Regions from separate parts of the Homo sapiens genome. Here all the other regions are linked to region 3. The links are contacts of gene promoters, found by promoter capture Hi-C in blood cells and fetal thymus (Javierre and others, 2016). All regions are on one chromosome and are shown on one strand. The core of a region is centred on a gene start or on the middle of the fragment in contact, and the rest is flanking DNA. Distances in the headings are between cores, read along the strand shown.

Region 1 (3,749 bases), core at 479-2,978, 260 kb before region 3:
TTGGAAGCCTATATCTCCATAATAACTCATTTCCTGTAAGACCCAAACAGCTGTAATAGTGTATGCAGAATGGAACTGAGTCAGAAGCCCAGACTTCAGTTATAATTTCTGTGATTATATTCATTCTTTGTATATGTTATTCCTCCATTATATAAGTTGAAATTAGTGACAAGAAGGGAAAATAAGCAAAAAAATGGGGTTATTTCATCTTTAGCTGTTAATGGTTAAGACAGTACTGTGATAACCTTAGCTCTTTTACATATATTTTATCATGTAATCTTAATAACTATGTAATTGAGCATTCTTATTTTACAGAAATAAAAAAATCACGGAATGTCACAGAAGTCATAGAACTTGACAAAGGACACACAGCTCAGTATGAATCCAGGTTGGCTTGACACGATACTGCCTGCAGGACAACATGTGCCTTCATTAACCACAAGGACTAAGTCTACCAAAGTGACCCACTGGATGCTTATTATCCTCTCTTTGTAATATGATGGCATTTATAAAAGTAATACTGAGAAAATCCAAAGCTTATAATTTGGAAACATAAATCTACCCATAACACTGTTTTTAAGCACCAGACAAATTCAAACTCACTTGCTTCTAAGCAACTCTTGCTTAAACAAATTAAGAACATCTTTTAGACATTTCTGCCAGGAAAAACTTTGGCATCTGCTAAGGGACTTCCTCAGTTATAATAAGGATAACGATGTTCCTTATTTGTATCCTTTTTGTTTGGGTTGCCAGGAAACTTCGCACTCAATAATCGTATATATCTCTTTCCTCTTCCTGTTAGTGCTCTTGGTTTACTATTTCTAGTTCGAGTTTTTCATATTCATTGTAAAGTATATTTTTTGTAAGTTACTTCAGAACTTCTGTGGGAAAATCCAGGGCGCATAAATTGTACAGAGGCCAAAACAGTTTATAAATGTGTTTATGTGCTTGATAGCACCATAAATGTTCCAGTATTTGATTATCTTCTACCTATCCACATTTATCTTTATTCATGTTTCTTGAGTCAAATCCAATGTAAGTCTATAGTGCTTTCTGTGACATGTGACAAGCTGCCCAAGAATGTGAATGACATGTTACCCTAGGGCCATTCATAAGCAGTGGGTTAATATGACAGGCCCAGGTTACTTTCCAAGATATAAAATTATTTGCTCCCTGTTTCCAAAATTTTGCAAAACTTAAATATATATGCAAAAAGCAAATACAAGGCTTTAAATATTGCCAGTATATTGTATTAGTAGTTCATCATGACTCACAATGTGAAGATGAAATGGAAAAGATTCAAAGTCATGGTATCGGGGCAAATTTTTTTTCTTTCTTTCTTTTTTTTTTTTTTTTTGAGGTGGAGTCTCGCTCTTTCCCACAGGCTGGAGTGCAGTAGCGCGGTCACAGCTCACTGCAAGCTCCGCCTCCCGGGTTCACGCCATTCTCCTGCCTCAACCTCCCCAGCAGCTGGGACTAAAGGCTCAGGCCGCCACGCCCGGCTAATTTTTGTATTTTTAGTAGAGACGGGGTTTCACCATGTTAGCCAGGATGGTCTCGGTCTCCTGACCTTGTGATCCACCCCCCTCGGCCTGCCAAAGTGCTGGGATTACAGGCGTGAGCCACCGCGCCCGACCAAAAATGTGTTTTTATAAAGCCTCCTGCATTGGTTCCTGTGACAATGGCTCAATCGTTCTTTGAAACAACTTTCACCTAAGAAATTTAGTTTAAGGTATTTTGGTAATTTCTTAAGAGTTCATGGCATTCAGTAGCATGTACTGACTTCAAATTGCTGTTGCCACGAGGGAGCAGATGTGAAAGCCAAAATGTTCTTCCATTAAAATACTTATTATTTACCAAGTAAAATAAAACAGTATTTCACCAAGTGCCTTTAGGGCCAAAGTTAGAGTCCTGACAAACCATTTCAAATTCCACTGGAACTAATGAAAATGTGCCAATAGTCCATTCAGCTGACAAACTACTTTCCCTCATGTGTCAGTTTTACCTTTTTTACCTTCTCTTTCATTCCCCTTTAGTAAAAATCTAAAAACACTTATTTTTATTAATATAATAAACATTCCAAATCTATTTGAAAAAATCAGTTTGGAAATATGGGGAAGCCATCATTTTCCATCATTTCAAGAAAGAAAGCACACATGATAGGCATGAAATAAGAATTATTTTCCTTTTTCCTGTCTTATAACATTCTCTCCAGAACCTACTGGTAGTAAAGTCTTAGTACAATGTCTTTAAAGCCATTCTAAAACGCACCTCTGAAACACACTGACCAACACATTTAGGTCCAGCCTAATTCTCATATTTTACAATATCACTTGCAGTCGGAGCAGAAACTGCTTTTGTCATCCTAAGTAGCAAGAGACACAGGCACAGAATGTGACAATTCATTTTCTTGCTCTTTCTATTTACAATTTAGGGCAGCATCACAGCAAAACAATTAATTGGCCTGCCTGGAAAACAAATAAATCACAAACTCAATATGTTGCTTGGAATTTGCAGCTCATTTCTGCAGTACTGCTGTGCAATACGGCTAACATATGAGGTTGGTAAGCTCTTCTTCTGACACGTCTCCAAGTTTGCCTAACCCCTTGCAAGGTTATGGTAGAGAAATAGAAGAGAGATTGTGGTGTAGTTATAATAGCATATGTTCCAAGTCAGTAAACATCAGAACAGAACAAAGAACAATAACAAAACTGATGCAGCACATGACGCAGTGATAAGGAAGGTCAAGATAAGCAATCTTAATATTCATTCAGTAATCTTGGAAGTAAATTTTTTTTGGCCAGTCTGAAAAAAAATTAATACATGCTGATTTAGCATGTTATTAATACTAGTGTTACTTGGTTATTGAAAAATAGTCACATGCACATACAAAAATTTTTCCCTTGCATATCAAGCTTCCATTTAATGAAATTACCATAAATGACTGTTTGGCTCCTACTGTATATGTGTGGAGCATGCCTGTCTACCAAGAGATTCTTGGCATTGCCTTTCCCAGACATTTTTTACTTAGGAAAGCTATGCAAATAAAAAACAAAATAGTTTGAGAGTACCCACCATGCTAACTTTTCAGGTCTTTTTATTCATCCTTGTTAAGAGATTCAGACGTCATTTGTAGTGGGTAACATATATGTCTAGCTAATTCTGTGAAGATTCAAAACTTCAGACGAAATTTAAAGAGGAGTAAGATTAGTACACTATGGAAACTATTACAATGACTATTTGCTACTTATTCTGAAATGTATGTAATTAATAGACTCTGAATAGACCATAAATAAATCACTTAACTAGTAAATGGGAAATAACTCTAATAAAACACTTGTTTAAATTATAAATGAGTCCATGAAGGGAGCCATGCAGTCCAAACTCACCATCCTGAATACCTCTTGATCAGTTGCAATTTAACTGCTATTTACCAGCAAAAAAAAAAAAAAAAAAAAAAAAAAAAAAAGAGCAATGATCTCAATCATTGAACTCATACTTAAATGCCTGATTTGATAGACATCTGTTTTATAGGTCTTACAAATTCTTTACAACTAGTGCTTCTAGAGAATGTTGAAGGAACTGGGATGTAGACTAGGTTTTGTCAAACTCCAGATCCAAGAAAACTCCATTATCCTGAATCTCCAGAAATCTTGAGAGGGTAGAAAAAGTTAATCAGGAGAATTTTATACCCAAAAGGCAGAATGAATTTACTGGTGATGGCAATTAGCTCCTTTTTAGCCATAGTC
Region 2 (3,751 bases), core at 507-3,006, 300 kb after region 3:
CTCCAAAATAATTCCAAAGGGTTACAAATATATACATATAAACATATAAATATGTATATTATACATATAAATATATACTCGATTCCATCAAATAAACTCCAAAAAGTATTTATCTCAATGTATTTATTTACTTTTAATGCTGGATTTTTACCCTACCTTAAAGTAAATAAATATATTTACTAGAATTTAACATAGCTTTTTAAGCTTTCTAAGAGATTAAAAAAAGTAATTACTTGAAGAAAAACTCATTAAATGGAAACTAAGACTAAGAGAAATAAGATGAGGACAGGTATAATATTAAAATATGAATACGACGAGGTTTACAGCTTAGCATTTTTTACTCTGTAAGAAGTCATATTCAAGGTGTGTTACAAACATCCTGACAAATACTATACCAACTTTCAAAAGGAACTGAAACTGACTCCAGCAAAGCCAAGTGATGACATGAATGAATCAGCTCCTGTTCCTTTTGAAAGTTGGTGTAGTATGCATAATAAATGAATGAATTAATGATGGTAATAAAAAGTCATGTTGATAATTTATGTTATGGACACTAATTAGATGATGACATGTTAATGGAAATGGAATAATTTACACTCAGATGGACATAAAACTATAAAGTTCAATGAATTCTTCAGCCCAGAAAAGAGAATTATTGTTCAAATATTATTACTAGCTCCGATTTCTTTGCTTTATCCTGTCACAAGAATTTCTATCAAAGCTGTATCCTCCAGTAGCCAAAATATTTATATGCATTTTTTACTATATATAAATTTAAAATTAGTGAGGTTAGCCCCATTTATATTTCACAACTTTGTTTCTATAAAGCTAAGTGGACTCTCAGATAATAAGTGGTATACAAGAAGGAGGTGTTAACCTTCAGAACCAATCAGTAACAATGGTCAAAACAAACAAAACCCACAACCTTTCAGTGCTGCTAGAGCTGTCTGTCTGATATGACAGTCACCAGTCACAAACATCTAAATTTAAATGTGCAGTAACTAAGAAAAAATCTAAAAATCCATTTTTTTATTTGGACTAGCTATGTGTCACATGTGGCCAGTGGCTGCCCTATGGGACAGTGCGGATAGCATATTGCCATAATTGCAGGAAGCTCTATTGGACATCACTGCTTGCAGGCTAGAAGCTGTCTTCGAGGAATAAGGTAACACACTTAAATGTATACATGTAAGCTGGCTGACTAGAGTCACAATGTATTTTCCAATGAAATCATGAGTATAAATGATGCCTCGTTGATTCATAAAAGTCTGTTTAACCTTCAATGTAACTGAAATCTTGCAAAGAGGCATAGTTGTAAGTAATTCTATTCTACGCTTATAATTAAACAAAACAGGAAAACAATAATATTGCCTGAGAGATAGTGCTTTATTTCCTGTGACTGCTGTAATTAAGGAATAACAAGTTTAATTTGAGAAAGCAGTGTCCATCTGAACAGGGAATTCTGTGACAATTCATTAAACATATGCTCAGCCTTTCCATCAGTGTTAGAGATGGCCAAGAAATTATTCTCTCTTACTATTTGTTTTTACATGAGATTTGTCTTTTCTTTGACACGAGACTATCACTGCAACTAAATTTACATTCGTTAATTTAGATAGTTAAGTTTTCCCTCACAAATGGAATTTTATTTTATTTATTTTGAGATGGAGTCTCACTCTGTTGCCCAGGGCAGAGCGCAGTGGCATGATCTTGGCTCGCTGCAACCTCTGGTTCCCACAGCTCAGGTAATTCTTGTGCCTTAGCCTCTCTGGTAGCTGGAACTAGAGGAACACCACCACATCTGGCTAAGTTTTGTATTTTTAGTAGAGATGGGGTTTCGCCATGTTGGCCAGGCTGGTCTCAAACTCCTGGCCTCAAGTGATTTGCCTGCCTCAGCCTCCCAAAATTCTAGGATTACAGGCATGAGCCACCACATCCAGCCATAAATGGAATTTTAAAAGAGGAATATAAAGGGAGAAAGTAAACAATCTTTCATAAATTAAGAAAGAGTAGAAAAACAGAAAACATGGAAGGAATTTGTAGCTAATATTTATGTGTGCTAAGCACCTTCACATGCATTATCTCATTAAAAGTGACTGAGGACAAGTGAAAAAATAAAAATGATAAAAAAAAACATAACTGTATACAGAAAATGACAGAAGGAATTAAGGGATGAGAATGTGGGTAGGCATAATTATACTGAGACCAAAATTTTTAAAATATGATAGAACAGACAGAATATATAACTTTACTACTCAAACTATGGTTATATGGTTGAGCGGCATTGGCATCACCTGAGAGCTTGTTATAAATGCAATTTCTCAGGCCCCACCTTAGTTCTACTGTATCATATAATCTTTCAGCAAGATCTCCAAGTAATTCATATGCACTTTAGAGTTTGATGTAATGATACAGCACATACTCAAAAGTAGATGATATCTAGAAAACCTCTGAATTAGGCCAATTAAATTGCCCCCTAGGAGAGTGTCAGATATTTTCAGTGATGCACCCATAAACGATTCCCAAACTGTTTTTTTCTTGCCTGTCCCCAATAAATGAGGATTTAAAAAAGCCAAATACTTGCTTTCTCTTTCTCTCTTGCAGCTAAAAGTAGCAATGACCAGTCAGGGGACAGGGAGATATAATGAAATTCTATAGGGTGGTTTCTGAAAAAGACTTACCTCCCTGATAAAGGTAGAGGTAGTGAAGTGAGTCATCCCTGCCACTTACTCACATCTTTTCTCCTAGGAGTCTTATTGTGAAGATATGATGCTCAGAAATGGGACAGCCATTTTACAGCTGAGAAAAGAAGACACCAACACCCTAAGAATAGCTAAATGAAGAGTTAGAAAGAGCCTGGGTCCTTGGTGACATCACTGAGACTTTACAACCAAATGCCCACTTTTGGACTCATGTTTTGTGAGATAATTAAATATCCTTTTGTTTAAGTCCCTGTTCTGTTACTTGCAACTGAAATCATTCCTAATTGGCAATAGGAACAGCAGAGAGTTTGAGAAAGAAATAGAGATGGGAGATTCAGCTATTCCATGTATAGAAAAGTGAGTAGGATAGTCAAAACTCAGAACCAACCCAGTAATCTTTAGTGATACTACAGATTTGATTAAACCACTTATTTCAGATCTGAAAGCATTGCGTGTATATATCTTTTCTCTTAAAATAAATTTAATGGTCAGTAAGTCTCTAATTTACTTCATATTTTACAGATTAAATCTGAGTCATACTTGAGTTTTAGTCCTGGATTTTAAAAACTGTTTATCTAAATCAGTGATTAAAAATGACAAGCTTTGCTACTTGCTTTTTAACCAGGTTACTTTCAAATCTTATTTGTTTCAGACTGTGCATTATTGTTGCTACACATGCACTACACTTCATGAAACCTACTAAAGTATAGTTTCAGTTCAAAAGAAAAGTAGGTATCAAAGTGATATGTGAAATAAACAGGTTATATTTTCTCCAAACTTCTCATAATTAAAAACAATTTAAACAAAGAAGATTTTCTCCCACTTTGTTTCCTTTCCTCTCAGTTAACAAAATCTCCTTTGGAAAAAGAATAAAAATGCCAGCCTCTATGTCTGTTTGGAATTGAAATTTTCCATGATACTTCAGCCGAACTCTACCAGTACAAGAGAGTGCTACTGCTGCTGTTTCTGGTGTAACAAAAAGAAAGTTCTGTAAAAGGCTTCAATTACCAGAATGTTCAAGGATTAGGGTTTAAAACTTATTATTTAAG
Region 3 (3,431 bases), core at 709-3,208:
AGCATCAGCAGCACAAACTAAATGCTCACAAAGGCAAATAGCAGTGTGAGTCGACCTTGGAGGGGCAGGGTGGATTACAAAGCAATTGAAAAAGAAAAAAACAAAGCAATAATCTTTTGTATAATACTGAAAGTCTGCTTCCCAGTCTGGTTTACAAATAGGCGTTGCTGGACGAGACAAAATAAATGACAGATAACTACAGCATGAATTACCTAACCCTAATCACATCACCGAGTCCTGGTGACAGCATAGATCATTCAGGCACGCCTTGTTCACTCTCGGCATATTTATTTATTAAGGAGACGGTGGAGTCTGGCTAATGCTAATGCAATACAAAATAATATCACCCGTACACTCGAGGTGGTCACTCCGCTAACATGTTTTCCCCCTAATCAAGTCCAATTTAATTGACAAATCGGAGCAGTGATTTCACACCTGAGAGTCTTTCATGTCTTAACTGCAGGATAAAGTTCAGGGTAGGTACTGCCCACTGCTTACTTACGTGGGCTTGCCTCTGGGCCCCTAATGGTCATTTGACACACACACATAAAGCCTAAAGTATTTAACCAATTCAAGTCCAATTATGATCAGTTACATTTCATTCCTTTTCAAGACTCAGGCCTCCTCATGGCAGCTACACAGAAAAATAGATCTTCTAAAAGTAAAGAACATCTATTGTAAAGCAGTCTGTAGCATGCTGATCATCCTCAACATAAAATAAAATAGGCAAGGCAAATTAAAAATAAAAATAAACTCTCAGAGACTCTGGTAGGAGCCCTATACCTTCTCACACCCTTCTTTCATTCTATACCCTGCGATTAAAAGTTTGAGTTACCCCCACCGTTGCACGTCCTATCCAGTGGGAAAAACCCTTTTAGAGCCACAATCAAAGAACAGCTCACCAGAAAAGCCCCTGAAATTATATTCTTGTGCCTGGTAATCACTGTTGTGATCTGCTTTCTAAAAACCGTGCCCATCTGCAAAAGACGTTCCTGATATCAGGACCATTTATGCTGCCAAATAACAACAAAGAAACTGAACTCAAGTGAAACTATTATCTCTCCTTAAAGAGAAAGCTACAATTCCGGGTTTGCTGCTTTCTTCTTATGTCTTCCTCTGCCTCATTAACTCCATTGGTATGTCACTAATTTCAAAGAAGCAGGAAGAAGTGATGGGGGTGGGGGTTAACTAATAATTCACACGCCTGTCTGTTTCCCATCCCAAGTGCAGAACGATACCACGCTGATCGCCAGACCGTGGGTCAAGCCATACCTTGGTTTGGAGATAATGAGGATAGTAGTAAGTGTACTGGGGGTACATTTGTGGCTGATCCAGGCGTTTGCCCATGTAGCTGGAATCTTTATCTCCGAGGCAGGGAACTGGATGACAGGGTATAGTGCCCCAGGCCGAGCTTCCTCTTAAACCACTATTCCTGACAGTCCCGGTGACTGATGAGGCTTCAGAGACTCCACCACTCGCTAGTTCCAACACAGCAAGAATTTTTTTAAAAAACAAAACAAAACAAAAAACACACACCAAAGGAAAAAAAAAAAGGGCGAGGAGTGAGATCTGTAGAAAAAACACCCACACACAGCCTTCCCAGATCTTGCCTGGCTTCCCCCAGCTGCCGGGGTCCACTTGGGATGAGGCAGTTTGTTCTCTAACCAGGCTGTCTGTAGTGATGTCAATTGCCAGCGTTCGTAAAGGGGGAAAAAAATCAAAGTCCTTTTAGCACAACTCCGAATCCTTGCAGATCAGCTTCCTGTCTCTTGGTTGTCTCTTTCCCCACCTTAAAGAAAAAGAAAAAAGAGAGAGAGAAAGAGAAAGAAAGAAAGAAAAAGAAAGAAAGAAAGAAAAAGAAAGGGGAAAAAGAAAAAAAAAAAGAAAAAAAGGAAGAAAAAAAAAAAAAAAAAACCTTGTACAGCTTAGTTGCTGCTGTCTCCCTCCCAGAGTGACATGGTGTTCGGGGCTTGTCCTGTCCTTTCATTCACTTCCCCTCCTTCCAGCCGGTGGGTGGAACCGAGAGAGCCTCTCCAGGGAGCAGCGTACGCAGTCCAGAAGGCTGCAGTATTTCCTCCAAGAAAAAAAAAAAAAAAGGCTGCTTCAACCCCTGCTGCAAGCAAAGTTCCGATTCCCTCTGCTGGCTATCTCGAATAGCAAGCGATTTTTGCAGCAACGCTGCTGCCGCTGGAACTGAACCTGAAGAACTCAAATGCGGGCGGTGGATTATTTCTTATCCCTCCTCCATCTACCCCACACAAGAGCTGCTTTTTGTTCCTCTTTTTGCCAAGTTCCAAGGTAAGCCACACTGCTAAACAAAACACAGAAGAGAGGGAAGAGAGGACGAAAGAAGGAAGGAGGAGAAAGGAAAAGAAATAAAGGCAGGGGAACTAACCTTGCTGGTTAAAGGGGAAAAAAGTAAGTCCCGGATGCTTTCAAAATCTGTTAACACGCTAGAGCCAGACGCATCCAAGAGCTGATTGAGAAACTAACCTTTTACTACCTGGAAAACTTGGTGGATGTTAAGTATTGAAGAAATTTTAGGGTCTACTCCAGGACTACTATTAATGCCACATGTCATCAGATTGGACTGATCAACTGAACATATCAAAAATAATAACTTTTTTAAAATACATCCATTTTGTAAAAAAAAAAAAAAAAAAAATCAAAGGAAGTGACCCCTTAGGTTCGTCAGATATTTTACAGATAAAATCTGTTTCTCCCATTGTCTCTCTCTTTATGATTATTTTGTTGCATTGATGCTTTAATCACTTTACTGATATCATCTAAAAAAAAAAGAACAAAAATCATAATTGCTTGGCAGAGTTTTTTCCCACCAATGATAATATTCTGTCATGTCTATCAGCTGCTACATTATAATACAAATTGTTTCAGATAAAATATATTTCCTTAAAGGGTCCCTTTTCAAGGCGGGCGAGGCTAAAATTAGATGTGCCAGCTGTGTTTTGCTGCGAGTGCTCACGCATGCCCAAAGCGTGGGCAGACCAATACTGAGCTCTTTTCTACTTTGTCAAGTCGGCTCTGTTCTCCTGAGCCCAGAGTCTCCTATTTAGATAAAAGGTCCCTGGTACAAATCCAGCTTCCTAGTCAAGAAGAACAGAGAATTTGGGCTCAGTGCACACATGGTGTCCATCCACATACAAGCCGCACCACCCCTAAAGCAACTGGCTTCCACCGAGGGGAACTGGTTTCTGGAAGCTGTGTGAGTGCATACGTGTTCCTTGGATAAAAATAAGGATGGCAGGTAAATAGTTTTATGTTTTACTTTTGACAAGAATAACAATCAGAAGGAAGGAAGGATGGAGGGTGAGAGGGTAAGAGTTAGGAGGCCCTGACAACATGGTGATTGAGAATATTAAATCAACCCCACCTATCTCTTAAATGTATTATTTGGGGCCTCAGTTGTCCCA
Region 4 (3,450 bases), core at 667-3,166, 370 kb after region 3:
CCTAGAGCATTGTCAGTTACACACCTGAATATTCAAAATCACAGGTGTTCATTGCCTCCTAAGGCTTTCTACTCTAATTTCACACAGTTCTAATAGTTAAAAAGTTCTTCATGCTGAATTGAATTCCCCATTCTTGTAACAATTTCTATTACCTGTTGGAACAATACAAAATTATTCTCTTTTCTACATAAAAGCCTTTTAAATATAGAAAGATTATTATCAGGGTGTCCCTAAAATCTTTCTCCCTTAAGACAAATATGCCCAGTACCATCAGAGATTTCTGTTAGTTGTATGTAAATTCTCCAGTCACCCTTTTCTTGAATCAGTGAACATCTGCTCAATACCACACTCTGGTGTGAACTGAGAAAAACAATATAGGGTAGGAACATCGGCTCCTGTGGACCTGACATTAACACACTATTAATGCAATCCAAAAGGATATCAGAATGTTTTAATCGCTACATCACTCTGTTGGCTTGTAAAGAGATTTGCTTTGTATAAAAATTTGCTCATATTTATATTAAGATGGGTTCAGAGTAGTCTTCCTATTTCTGTTGTTTTTTTTAACCTAAACAATTGAATTTGAATTTGTCTATGTTAAAGTCGTCTTGGTTTTAGCTGTTTGTTCCAACCAGTTTAAATTTGTCTTGAATTCCATATTTATTATGTGATCCTCCATTTCAAAGCATTTGTGTAACTTTTCAGCCCACATCCAAGTTGTTGTGCAGCATTTTAAAAGGGACAGGGACAAATACAGGACTGTGAGGCTGGGCATTCATATGCCACTTTCTGGGTAAAATCTCATGACCTACATTCTTTATTCACAGCTCTCCAATTTGTCAGCAACAAATCAGTAAAAACTGTTCCATGACTTGCTCAAATTTGAAAAGACTTTGCTTTTGCTTTTTAAATCACCTAATCCAGAAGTCTAGAATCCTACCCCAAAAAAGGAATCAAGAGTAACTTTCATTCCCATCCTTTTAAAATACATTCTGAAATTTAGTGGTTGCCCTTTTTCTGTGAACTCAAAACCATGTGTTTCCTGACTTATTTTGCCCAGAAATTGTTGTCAAATTTACAAATCTGTCACATTCGTAATCCATTTCTCTCTCCCTCTCTTTTTGTAAATGGCCTAGTATAAGCTTTTCTAGAAGCTTATGCTTACTTTGTCATCTCTGCTCTTGAAGTTTGTCTCCTCTCCAGAGTGCAATTTATCTGGGCTTGATATTAGAAATCATTTGACATACGTAGGTATCTTCTTAACGTGGCCTTTCCTTTCCTGGCCTTCCATATATTCTTATTAACCTTTATTCTACTTTCCAGTTGGGAAAAAAATGTCAAACAAAAAATAAAAATAAAGATTTCTCTCTTTCTCATGTCGTTTGTTAGTATTACACCATATTTCCAGCATGCTCATTCTGCCTTCCTTTCATGTGAATACAACTATGTTACGATTTGACGGTGGAGGAGGTTGGGGGAGAATCTTATTCCAAAACTGAAATCCTTAAGGAATTTTAAATTTTTGCTTTTAAAAATCTCAATGTTTCTTTTTTAAAAGGTATTGTTTACATTTTTAAAAAGTACATTTTTTATTTTTGCATTTATTTCTAATTATTAAAATTATATATATATACACTCTGTAGAAATTCTTGAAAAAAATTATATAAGCAAGCAAGTAATGAAAAAAAACCTCAAAATCCATTTTTCAACATCCATCCCATAGTCCCCACTTATCTGAGGAAGATACCTTCCAAGACTTCCAGTGGATTCTTGAAACCTCAGATGCTATTGAACCCTGTATATACTATGTTTTGTCCTATATGTAACCTATGATAAGGTATAATTTATAAATTAGCCACAGTAAGAGATTAACAATAATAATAAAATAGTACTTTATAACAATATGCCAGAATTTCTACTCTTGAACTTTGGGACCATTATTAAGTAAAATAAGAATTACTTGACCACAAGCACTACAATACTGAGACAGTCGATCAGATAAGAGATGGTTACTGAGTGACTAGCAGGGAGGTAACATATACAAGAGCATAGATATGTTGGCCAAAGGGATGAGTTACGCCCAGGCAGGATGGAGTGTGACAGCACAAGATTTCAATGCATTATTCAGAATAGTGAGCCATTTAAAACTTATGAATTGTTTATTTCTGGAATTTCCCATTTAACATTTTTTGGACTTCGATTGACTACGGGAAACTGAAACTTCAGAAAGCGAAACCACAGATAAGGGAGGACTGCTGTATAGATTCTAAAATATAAATAAAAAAGAAATATTGACTTTAATTCCATGATATCATTGAGCTCTCGGTGTTCAAGTCATTCATCCCTTCAATGTTCTGGCTTCTGACTTAACTAGATGCTAGAGCTACAATAAGAACTAAGAGTTCTAGACAGAAAGTACACATTCTTTGGCCTCAAGAAGTTTATTAACCATTAGATAAGCAAACTAAAAACTGAGATAGCTTGTAGAGCAAAGTGAAGTATGGGATGTCAAGAGAAGTCCAAAGAAACAGTACCTGAGAGCCTGGCAGAACATGGTCAGGAAAGGAGGCTCTAGTTATAATCCTAAATGAAGGCTCTTGGTTGAATATTCTTTCAAGCCACAAAAACATCCACAACATTCCCTTTTCAGTCTGGATCACATCACTAGAAAAGCTTCTAATCCCCTTTCTTTGACCAGAAAACTCAGCCTTTCTGTTCTCACTATCATTGTGAAGATGTATTTGTTTTTCCCAAAACCAAAAAAATATTTTACCACAGAGTAAGAAGTAGTTATATGCTCCCAAAACACAATATGTATTAAGGCACAAAAGCCATCTTTCAAGTAATCCTTGTTTTGATCTGAGAAGGATTCGTCGCTGAATTTAGGGAAACGTTCTCTCCCCAAGTAATTGCAATATCCATCTAATTCCGGCTGAAACAAACTCCTGTCATTCTGCTTATTCACACACCTATGTGAGCAAATGTAATTTCCTTGAGATAAAGTGTGTTGGCTGAATTGGTAAGAAAGAAATAGGGAAAGCAATTATTCAAAAAAAAAAATGAAGAAGAAGAAAAAAAGAAAACAAACAAAAGGACCCTGCCTGTGCTTATTAGTTCTTTGGTACAGAGCCATGTTTTGAGTCAGGAGCTTGTGTGAGTGTCTTATCCTTGGCTTAGGAAGAAATAGGGAACAAATGCACATCTATGGAAGCACAAACACAGAGGATTTCCTTTTGATCAATTAGTATAGAATGTAATGGCAGCTTTACATATATTTTTCCATAAACATGGAATAATAAAACATCTATTTACTAATAGTTGCAGGAAAACCAGCAAAGATGAACATATGACCTTTTATTATATGCAACATGTATTTTTGGCTGGCCAATTTCAGAAGATCCTTTCTACCTTTGTAGAATTGATTGACAATAAATATTAGTAGGAAATAGA
Region 5 (3,500 bases), core at 457-2,956, 390 kb after region 3:
CTCAGGAGTCTGAGGCAGGAGAATCACTTGAACCCGGGAGGTGGAGGTTGCAGTGAGCTGAGATCGTGCCATGGCACTCCTGCCTGGCAACAGAGCGAGACTCTGTCTCAAGGAAAAAAAAAAAAAAAAGGATTTCCTTGATACAGTGAATCCAAGGATTATAATAAGACATTAGCCCATATTTATTGCTAAATAAATTCTAGACATTATTAGAAGAAGCTTCACTGCAGGACCATAGAAGGTTGTTGATGGATAAATCTTGCCATTTTTCTATCTCTATTTCTAGGTTGGAAAGTGATACATTCATTCAACATTGAATCCTTCATTCAACCACTTGCATTTGTGGAGTGCTTACCAGGTACATGACTCAGTCTAATGGGAAACACAGACTCACAGGGAATTAAGAGTTTTGACTGGGAAGAGAATAAAACATAATAAGAAACAGAAATGGTTTATTTCAAAAGGAAATTGGGACCGTCAAGGTGGATAATATTTCAGAAACCAGTGAAAAGTTGAGTTCAGCTATGACTAAGAGATGCTCAGACAAAAATGTTCAAGGAATACAATAATAATAGTTATAATTTGTTCCCATTTAGTAAATATTTTTGAGAACTTTAATCTTGCCAGAAATTGCAGATACATGCATTTCTGCTATTATATCAAATATACTTTGAAAAATGTTGTAACCTACATGGGAAAAATAACAGGTTTTTTGGGGAAAACCTGCTTTGGAATAAGCCAATCAAAACCTATGAAACTTTGAACTAAAACTTTAATACACAAATAACAATTTTAATTTAAAAAACACTGGCAGTAAGGGCAATCAGTCAAGAGAAAGAAATAAAGGGTACTCAAATAGGAAGAGAGGAAGTGAAATTATCTCTGTTTGCAGATGACCTGATTGTATATTTGGAAAACCCCATCGTCTCAGCCAAAAATCTCCTTAAGCTGGTAAGCTACTCCAGCAAAGTCTCAGGATACAAAATCAGTGTGCAAAAATCACAAGCATTCTTATATACCAATAATAGACAAACAGCCAAATCATGAGTGAACTCCCATTAACAATTGCTACGAAGAGAATAAAACACCTAGGAATACAACTTACAAGGGATGGGAAGGACCTCTTCAAGGAGAACTACAAACCACTGCTCAAGGAAATAAGAGAGGACAAAAACAAATGGAAAAACATTCCATGCTCCTGGATAGGAAGAATCAATATCATGAAAATGGCCATACTGTCCAATGTAATTTATAGATTCAATGCTATCCCCATCAAGCTACCACTGACTTTCTTCACAGAATTAGAAAAAACTACTTTAAATTTCAAATGGAACCAAAACAGAGCCCGCATAGCCAAGGCAATCCTAAGCAAAAAGAACAAAGCTGGAGGCATCACGCTACCTGACTTCAAACCACACCACAAGGCTAAATTAACCAACACAGCATGGTACTGGTACCAAAACAGATATATAGACCAGTGGAACAGAACAGAGGCCTCAGAAATAACACCACACATCTACAACCATCTGATCTTTGACAAACCTGACAAAAAAAGCAATGGGGAAAAGATTCCCTATTTAATAATTGGTGTTGGGAAAACTGGCTAGCCACATACAGAAAACTGAAACTGGATCCCTTCCTTACACCTTATACAAAAATTAACTCAAGATGGATTAAAGACTTAAACGTTAAGACCTAAAACCATAAAAACCCTAGAAGAAACCTAGGCAACATCATTTATAACATAGGCACGGGCAAAGATTTCATGACTAAAACACCAAAAGCAATGGCAACAAAAGCCAAAATTGACAAACGGGATCTAGTTAAAGAGCTTCTGCACAGCAACAGAAACTATCATCAGAGTGAACGGGCAACCTGTAGAATGAAAGAAAATTTTTGCAATCTATCCATCTGACAAAGGGCTAATATCCATAATCTACAAGGAACTTAAACAAATTTGCAAGAAAAAAACAACCCCATCAAAAAGTGGGCAAAGGATATGAACAGACACTTCTCAAAAGATGACATTTATGTGGCCAACAAACATATGAAAAAAAGCTCATCATCACTGATTAGAGAAATGCAAATCAAAACCACAATGAGATATCATCTCACACCAGTTAGAATGGAGATCATTAAAAAGTCAGGAAACAACAGATGCTGGAGGGGATGTGGAGAAATAGGAATGCATTTACACTGTTGGTGGACCATTGTGGTTCAACCATTGTGGAAGACAGTATGGCAATTCCTCAAGGATCTAGAACCAGAAATACCATTTGACCCAGCAATCCCATTACTGGGCATATACCCAAAAAGGTTATAAATCATTCTACTATAAAGACACATGCACATGTATGTTTACTGCAGCACTATTCACAATTGCAAAGACTTGGAACCAACTCAAATGCCCATCAATGATAGACTGGATAAAGAAAATGTGGCACATATACACCACGGGATACTATGCAGCCACAAAAAAAGAATGAGTTCAGGTTCTTTGCAAGGGCATGGATTAAGCTGGAAACCATCATTCTCAGCAAACTAACACAGGAACAGAAAACCAAATACCACATGTTCTCATTCATAAGTGGGAGTTGAACAATTAGAACATATGGGCACAGGGAGGGGAACATCACACACCAGGGCCTGTCAGTGGGTTGGGGGCTAGGGGAGGGATAGCATTACAAGAAATACCTAATGTAGTTGATTGGTTCATGGGTGCAGCAAACCACCGTGGCACATGTATACCTATGTAACAAACCTGCACATTCTGCATGTGCATCCCAGAACTTAAAAAAAAAACACCGGGAATATTAAATCTCTACCATGATTGGAACCTATTATCTTTTGCAAGCTCTATATATTGGAGGTAGTGCTTTTTCTCAGATGTAGGTCCTTAAAGATGTTTGCTTCTAATAGAGGCCAGTTTCATCAAAATTAAAACTACAATACAATGGTATGCTTTTACATTCATCATTTCTTAAAAATCACAGGAGAAAATGCTTTTGCAACATCTGCATTGGCATTTGCAGTCTCTTCTAAAAATGTGGCATAGTGAAAAATGTGCAGTTCTTAACGACACTAAATCAACCACCATTTCTTTCACTAAAGGAAGGCATGTCAGCAAGATTTTTCACTTTCTTAAGATTGTTATATACTGCTAAATTTTCCTCTTTAATTTTAAGAAAGCTTACATACTGGTAATTTCGAAACATTAGCATGATGGGCAAACTCACATATGAATCAACACAGCTTCCTATTATTCTGACATCATTTTCTTTATTTACCAATCACATTAAGAAACATACTTTGCTTCAGAACAAATCGTATAACCAGGCTCAGTCTCAAATATCAAAGAATTCAGTCTAGTAGGAAAAGTAGTCACACAAACTCAAATTGTACTACCTTGAACTATTGCTTCATTAAAGAGACGAAGTGCTGGATGGAATCAAGGTAGACAGTGATTAACTTTCTGTAGCTACTCTTTAAAGATTACTCAC
Region 6 (3,577 bases), core at 671-3,170, 490 kb before region 3:
TTTAGGGTACATGTACACAACATGCAGGCTTGTTACATATGTATACATGTACCATGTTGGAGGGATAGCATTAGGAGATATACCTAATGTTAAATGACGAGTTAATGGGTGCGGAACAATTAGGTTCTATGAGGAACCTGGCAAGACGCTAAATAACTTGTTCAAGTTAAAACGTAAAAAAGAGACAGCAGCATAAGTCAAACCAAAGTCCATCTGATTCCAAAGGCAAAGGTGGTATTCTCTGTAGCATATGTTCTTCCAGAAATTAAATTCATAAAGGGCAAAGGGGATCCTGGCCGTGAGGATCTCATAGAAAGCATATCATAAGCTGGACGAATGGCGCTCTTTTCTTTAACATCATATAGGTGTAGCAAAGATGTAAAATGCTTGTCTTTGGGATGCAAGAAATGAAGGGGCTGTTAAATGATGTAAGCAAATATTGAGTTGCGTCCTTTAAAAATAAATTATATGAGAATTTTATCTTAAATTATTTTATCTATTACATGGATTCATTCAGATAAAATTACAACTAGTTACAAAAGATGACTAGAGAATTACTTTCCTTAGAGATCATTCAAATTAGGTAAAGATGCAATAAGCTTAATGAAATCATGATTATGTGACTCTACAATAGGAGACTTTACTATTTCTGAAATTTTTTTAAGATTTTATGTGAACACTAATAATATACAGTGTTCAATTAGTTGCATGCTAGTGTTTAAATATATTATTATCATTTTTATTATTATCATGTACTACAACTAGCAAACCTGGAAGGTCGTACGTACTTAAGATATGTCCCACATGGTGAATAGCACTCACACTGGTGAAGTCCAGATGTAAGATGAACATTATCTGAAATTAGCAGCGACTAAAAGAAGCAACACAGAATAGTTCTTATGATGATAACACAGCTCCCATGTGGCATCTGTGGTTAGCTTTCTGGCTCTTAGATATTAGTCTTAAACTCTCCCTAAATTGTGGGCAGACTCATTCGCATGCTACTCACAAATTCACATAATTCCATTCCCACAATTGCAGCATGCCACACACGCTGCTTAAATACATTGTCTTAATACAACATTCACATATTCTGTCAAACAATATGCTATTTGCTAATGAAAATGAGAATGCAAATGTTCAGAAGACTAACCATTGCCTCTGCATTTAAAAAAATAAAACAAAACACTCACTATAGATTAGGCGCCTGAATGCTTGTTTACCAAAAAAAAAAAATAAATAAAAAATAAAAAAATAAAAAAAAACTGGTAGAACTCATTTAATTGAAATTTATTTTTTAATTGCTCCATTAAAACTAGCTTCCTAGAACATACGTAGGTTCTCAAAATAAGACCAAAAAAAGTGAGAGCGTATTTTAAACTTCGCCTTTATCTTGGTTATCTTTCTTCATCTTTTCTAAGATGAAGGGCTTGAATTTGACTCTATATCGGCTGTTTTCTATGTTTGTTTTTTGTTTTTGTCTCAGGGCCTCTTTACACTCTGAAAAATTATTGAAGATCCCCCAAAACTTGTTTAGACACGTTATATTTATTGACACCATTAAAACATAAAATAAAAAAATTTAGATGTTTATTTATTTTAAAATAATAATAGTCCTGTTACATATTGACATAAATCATACACTTTTATTTAAAAACACTATTTTCAAAAACAGAATAAAAAAGAGAAGAGTGGCTTTGTAATTTCTGGCTTAATAAAAGACAGCTGGATTCTAACATTTGCTTCCATATTCCAGCTTTTGCCACATCTCAAATCATGTAGCCCCTGGAAAACTCCACTTTACATTCATGAGAGAATCAGAGTGAAAAAGGCAAATAATGAATTCGTATTATGATAAAAATATTTTTGACCTTGTAGACCACCAGAAAGGATCTTAGGAACCTCCAGCGGTCTCTGTAACACCCTTTGTATCAAGCTCACTATACCATCTTAAAATGATTATGTGTAAAAACATATTAGTTTCAATATTTTTCTTCAGTGCTTTTGTACACTTTGCTAAGATTTTTTTATTTTAAAACCCCTTTGTCTTATATATGGATACAATTTTCATTCTTTTGAATGGACCTTTATTAAGACATATTGTGATTAGCTCAGTGATAATCGGCCGGTGATTGCTCACTCACAGGAGACCTGATCACGGTTTTATCTGCTGTTACACACACTTTATCAACATTTAAATGGTGTATCCCTTTTATAAAGAAGCCAGCTACCTATAAACAAGTGCTGCCTTACTTAGAGTGTCTAGTATGTCTATTTCCAGTGAAGTGAGGGAATTTGAGGAATTTTATATTCACTTTTGAAACCTCCCTCAATCTATCCTGAGGGATTCAGTTAACTTGAGTACATTTTACAGATGAGACTGTAAAACTCAAAACATTAATGAAAATAATAGATCATAGAATAACAAATTTAGTGTCTGTATGAATATAATACCTTAGTTTGGGTTCACCAGAAACAGACTTTGAAACAAGGTTGCTTGTGAACATGAATTCTTAGGAAGTATTTTCAGGGAAAGCCAGTAAGGGACTTGGGAATTGGGACCAGGAAGTGAAGGAGTCAAGCAAGGATGTGGTGTTAGACAGCCCCACAAACTGTAACTGTTTGAATCCTTCAGGAAAGCTATAGAGATAGTATACATCATACACAGGGTATTCTCATCAGAAGCAGAAGAACTGGGATATTGATACTCCAACAGCTGTCAATCACTGTTTATGGATGGCCCCGAATGGGGATGTAAATTCCCAAGTACTTCTGACTCTCACTGCTCACAGGCAAAACAGGCTGCTGCAGCCTAAGGGCAGTCTACCTAATGAAAGAGATGCAGGTGCTGGTTGATGGCCACGGGCAAACACTCCGGGAGCACTAACATTTGCTCTAATAACAAACAGCTGGAAATCAACTTAAATTCTTGAGTTCTTTTTCTTTAGGGCATCTCAGCGGGTCAACTAGTGCAACTGTTTGATATAAACCTCTGGTCCAAAATGTGTCTCACACTCAGTTCAATAGAAAATGGTTATGTTTTCATATGTACAGCCTCCCAATCTTGCTATAGGAATAATATGGAATGTGTAATAACTTTGGCTAAGAAACACATTTTTGAAAATGCACTTAATTTTTAAAATTATTTTATCATAAGCATTATCTATCTTTCTAAATATATAATAAGTATGCATATTCACCACCTCTAAATTTTTAATGTGTGTCTCAAAACTAAGCTTTCAGATGAAAGATTTAGGGCATTTAGAGCTTTAGGACAATCCCCGTTTCATGGGACAATGAGTAGGGGTGTGAGCATGGTCTATGCTTGAGATATAATCATCTAAAACTTAAAGTTGATTATAACCTCGAGGAGCTCCATTCTGTTTTTCTAGGCCCTAATAACTTTTCAAGAATAGGAATTATTGAAAGCAAGTATTAAGGTTGAGACCCAAGAGATACACATTTACATGAATTTAGATTAGCAATTAGGATTATTTTCCTGGCATACTTATGGTGTCAGATAGTTTAAGTTCATATTTTATTTCTTTGAATAAAAAACAATGTGCTCTAAGATATA
Region 7 (3,720 bases), core at 857-3,356, 270 kb after region 3:
ATCACAACTTACTTTTTCTAAATAAGAAACTAGAAAACTGTCAACTTATAGCATTATTATAATAACATTATTTTAAGAATTTGATTCTGCATAAAGTCTCCTCAATACTTAGGGCCACTTTTTTATATTTAAAACTTAACTTTTAATTTTGAGGTAAGTTTGAATTCACTTAATAATAGTAACAAATAATACAGAGAAAACTCTGTGTTCTTTACAGTCTTCTCCAATTATAACGTCTTGCAAAACTATAGTACAATATAATAATCAGAATATCGACGTTGATAAAAGCCATAATCTCCATCTAACCATGAGAAAAATAGTAAAAACCCAGTTAATGGAGATTCTACAAAATACCTGGAAATATCTGGCCCATTCTCCTCAAAGCTGTCAAGGAGATCAAAACCAAGGAAAGTCTGAGAAATTGTCATAGACAAGATGAGTTTAAGGTGGATGAACTTTACTTGTGGGGCATATGGGAACTCTGTACTATTTTTACAGTGTTTCTATAAATCTAAAACATTTCCAAAATATGTGCCTTTGGCTATCGTAAGGAGCCTGAATAGTTTTTTTTTTTTTTTTTTTTTTTTTTTTTGAGACGGAGTCTCGCTCTGTCGCCCAGGCCGGACTGCGGACTGCAGTGGCGCAATCTCGGCTCACTGCAAGCTCCGCTTCCCGGGTTCACGCCATTCTCCTGCCTCAGCCTCCCGAGTAGCTGGGACTACAGGCGCCCGCCACCGCGCCCGGCTAATTTTTTGTATTTTTAGTAGAGACAGGGTTTCACCTTGTTAGCCAGGATGGTCTCGATCTCCTGACCTCATGATCCACCCGCCTCGGCCTCCCAAAGTGCTGGGATTACAGGCGTGAGCCACCGCGCCCGGCCGCCTGAATAGTTTTGAGGACTAGCAATGATCTGTTCCTTTGGTCAGAGCCAAGGACTCAAGTGAATATAACATTCTTTCTGAATCAGAACTGAGAACTCAAGATTGATACTTTTTTTTCACTAAGGAAACAAAGGGAATTTGCCCTAGTTTGCATTCTTTTGAAGATGTGGGTAATGAGGGGTAAAAAATCAACTTTTTTTTAACCACTAAGGCAGAAAGAAATCATAAGAGAAACTCTAAATTTTAAAGGGCTAATTGTGACTTGAATACATTCTTGTAAGAGAGATGAAACCAGAATGTAGTCTAAAAATGTCTCCAGAAAATAATGGAAACAGAGAAATCTGCCTTAATGGAAAGGTTTGAGAAGAAAAGTCTTATCTTCTTGCTAAGCTTAAGGATAATGTAATTCCATCACCACTTCCTCAGTCATGAAAAAGTAAAAATTACAGAGAAGGTTAAAAAAAATACTTTTCTTGGTAGTCAAGTGACAAGCATTGAAAATGTACTATAAGGACTCAGTATTGGCTTTCATCTGAGGTATAAAATCAGGCCTCTGCATGTTGAGTTCATAAACTGTGCCATAACCAGTGGCACATCTACATTGATCAACAAATTCTTCTTGGTAGGCCATTCTGTAGCTCAGGATACAGGAAGAACCACTTGGCAAGTAAGACACAAGTCAACCTAGATACCTTCCCAAGAGTCAATATTCAAGCTGTACTTAACAGTCAATCCCTATCTATTGTTCTGATTTGTCTAGCAAACTTTAAGTTCCCTTTGGAACATTCTTGAACACCAACACAAAATACGTTCACTATCATCTATGTTTATATTAATAGCAATGATTTTGTTTTTTCCATTAATGTAGAAATGTTGAGTCTTGGTGCTTAAAGGTATTACAAAAGAAGCTGCTGACCTGGAATTTACCATAAGAAATACTGGAGTGATTTCATGGAATAATGATGCCCTAGCTCTATGAACAGCAATCTGGTTTAGAGCTGGATGATCCTTAGAGATTTCTTTAGAATCAATTGATTCTCCTGTTTTTCTTCATACTTTATACCACCATCTTCCTCTCTTTTTTTTTCATAACCAATCTGAACCTGAAGTAGAAGTATTTGATACTTGGGCATACTTAATATCCACCTTGCAGTGGTGGCAGATATATGGAATTGCTTACTCACTAAATCATAAAGCTGAACTTCTTAGGAAAGTATCAATAAAGTGACAATGTTTAATATAGCAACAGATCCTGAGAAAACAAACTTCACCTGATAGCTTTCAAGGTTCATTTTATGTTGTATGTAATATATTTTCCTTTTTAAATTTTTATTTTCTTCATTCTTTCCTTCCTCCCTTTCTTCTTCCCTCTTTCTACCTTCTTTTTTCTCATGTTTTCTTAAGAAATATTTTTTGTGGGTTCCTTATATTGCTTTAGAAAATGTATCTTGCTCAGAATTTTTCTGATTATACAAATAGGCCAAGAATTTCTCCTGACAAGAGTAGTATTCAAAAAATAACACAGTAAAGTGATTTTAACACATTATGATGAGAAATGGTAAGATGGTAAGCAGGAATCTTGCAACCATGAATAATTAAACAGATCACAGAGCTGGGACAGAGGTTCTTATTTCCTATAATAAAAGGATACTTGATTTGAGAACTTACCAGAACCAACCTATGCGCACTGTGAGGTCAAGTTACTTTAAAAGAAAATTATTCTTGCATTCATGATGTAGACCTATACACACACTCAGCCAGAAAGTTAAATGTTTTTATACTTAATACTGGGTAACAGGATAGCCTTAATCTGTGCAGAACACTGCAATATATGTGGGTAAAAGCAAAGAAATCCATTTCCTATTATCCCAGGGATAGGAAATAATAAATCAATAAGCATTTTCCAATGCCTGAAGGTGGTAAGTTAGCTATTTTAAATCGAAGTTCCAAACACCAGTTTGGTTGTTATGAGAACAATGCTGCATTTCAGTGCTGAAAAATCATCTGCTATTCCTCTGGGTAATATACTGTCTATCCTCAAATTTGGAAAGGAAGCTTTTTCTCTTTCCCAAACCTTCTATCAGTCACACAGTCAATTCTGAAGCAGTGGAGTTGATACAATATCCAGTATTGTTAGCACTGGATACCGTATTATGCAGAACGCGCTCACCATTTCCTTTTAATGTGCTTGAGTTTACAAGGCTCAGGGCAATGGAGAACACACAGCTTCTGTAACCTTTGTGAAAGTGTTGGATGTGCATTTGTGTGGGTACAATATGATTACATTCTTGAAGATTCAATGAGTTTCCTAACAAAGAGAGCAAAAAAGAAGAAACTGCTTGAAAGTCATCTATTACAAATGACTTCCAAAACTAAAGGTCTGGTGAAACGACGAAGCCATAACTTTGAATATTTGTACAAAGGAAAATGGGAAAAAATGTATATATATCTTCTAGAACGCCAGATTAACCTCAGAAAATGAGCAAAATATTAGATGCCCAGAGCCTGCTCTCATTCAATATGACAAATTCCAGAAATGTTCACAATTGCCACAGTTTATTAATTGCTACACAAGTGTTATCACATTAATGCAACTCAGATGCCAACGAGGGTTTAAATGAAGTTAAATGAGTAAAGCACGCAAAATGCTTTTCATTGTTCAGGCTTATGGGTAGTCAGTGAGTTGTATAATTGGGATTGCTAATGTTTCCAGCTCATTTAGTCTTTTACTGTATTGTGTGAACTCAACAAACATCTGCCAAAAAAAAAAAAAAAGAAAGAAAAGAAAAGAAAAAGTGCAATAGCCCAGATTCAAAGATCCTCAAAGCTAAGTTAAAAC

The links. Contacts are between HindIII fragments. The CHiCAGO score rates a contact against its expected background, and 5 or more counts as called.
Region 1: a fragment that was not itself captured here is called in contact with the fragment with the promoter of RBMS3 in region 3 in 1 of 17 cell types (endothelial precursors); the score reaches 5.1 in endothelial precursors.
Region 2: a fragment that was not itself captured here is called in contact with the fragment with the promoter of RBMS3 in region 3 in 1 of 17 cell types (neutrophils); the score reaches 5.1 in neutrophils.
Region 4: a contact is called between a fragment that was not itself captured here and the fragment with the promoter of RBMS3 in region 3, in 1 of 17 cell types (endothelial precursors). The highest score is 7.0, in endothelial precursors.
Region 5: a contact is called between a fragment that was not itself captured here and the fragment with the promoter of RBMS3 in region 3, in 1 of 17 cell types (neutrophils). The highest score is 6.2, in neutrophils.
Region 6: a fragment that was not itself captured here is called in contact with the fragment with the promoter of RBMS3 in region 3 in 1 of 17 cell types (endothelial precursors); the score reaches 7.9 in endothelial precursors.
Region 7: a contact is called between a fragment that was not itself captured here and the fragment with the promoter of RBMS3 in region 3, in 1 of 17 cell types (neutrophils). The highest score is 6.2, in neutrophils.

Annotation. Positions count from the first base shown.
Region 1 is chr3:29,535,431-29,539,179 of GRCh38, reverse strand. All of the region lies in intron 3 of RBMS3 (RNA binding motif single stranded interacting protein 3), which reads right to left. Among named protein-coding and RNA genes, the nearest start is that of RBMS3-AS2, 110 kb to the left of the region's middle. The HindIII fragment of the contact is 2,379 bases long and covers 539-2,917 here.
Region 2 is chr3:28,979,797-28,983,547 of GRCh38, reverse strand. No RefSeq gene overlaps it. Among named protein-coding and RNA genes, the nearest start is that of RBMS3-AS3, 300 kb to the left of the region's middle. The HindIII fragment of the contact is 3,099 bases long and covers 207-3,305 here.
Region 3 is chr3:29,279,598-29,283,028 of GRCh38, reverse strand. It overlaps RBMS3 (RNA binding motif single stranded interacting protein 3), which reads right to left and starts at 1,958. Exons shown (of 15, transcript NM_001003793.3): 1 at 1,273-1,958. The coding sequence starts at 1,347. It overlaps RBMS3-AS3 (RBMS3 antisense RNA 3), which reads left to right and starts at 2,090. Exons shown (of 3, transcript NR_109804.1): 1 at 2,090-2,298. RefSeq lists an enhancer at 3,054-3,103. The HindIII fragment of the contact is 8,241 bases long and covers 1-3,431 here.
Region 4 is chr3:28,911,305-28,914,754 of GRCh38, reverse strand. No RefSeq gene overlaps it. Among named protein-coding and RNA genes, the nearest start is that of LINC00693, 340 kb to the right of the region's middle. The HindIII fragment of the contact is 1,519 bases long and covers 1,157-2,675 here.
Region 5 is chr3:28,887,937-28,891,436 of GRCh38, reverse strand. No RefSeq gene overlaps it. Among named protein-coding and RNA genes, the nearest start is that of LINC00693, 310 kb to the right of the region's middle. The HindIII fragment of the contact is 2,970 bases long and covers 222-3,191 here.
Region 6 is chr3:29,772,925-29,776,501 of GRCh38, reverse strand. All of the region lies in intron 6 of RBMS3 (RNA binding motif single stranded interacting protein 3), which reads right to left. Among named protein-coding and RNA genes, the nearest start is that of RBMS3-AS2, 130 kb to the right of the region's middle. The HindIII fragment of the contact is 2,637 bases long and covers 602-3,238 here.
Region 7 is chr3:29,011,470-29,015,189 of GRCh38, reverse strand. No RefSeq gene overlaps it. Among named protein-coding and RNA genes, the nearest start is that of RBMS3-AS3, 270 kb to the left of the region's middle. The HindIII fragment of the contact is 1,665 bases long and covers 1,274-2,938 here.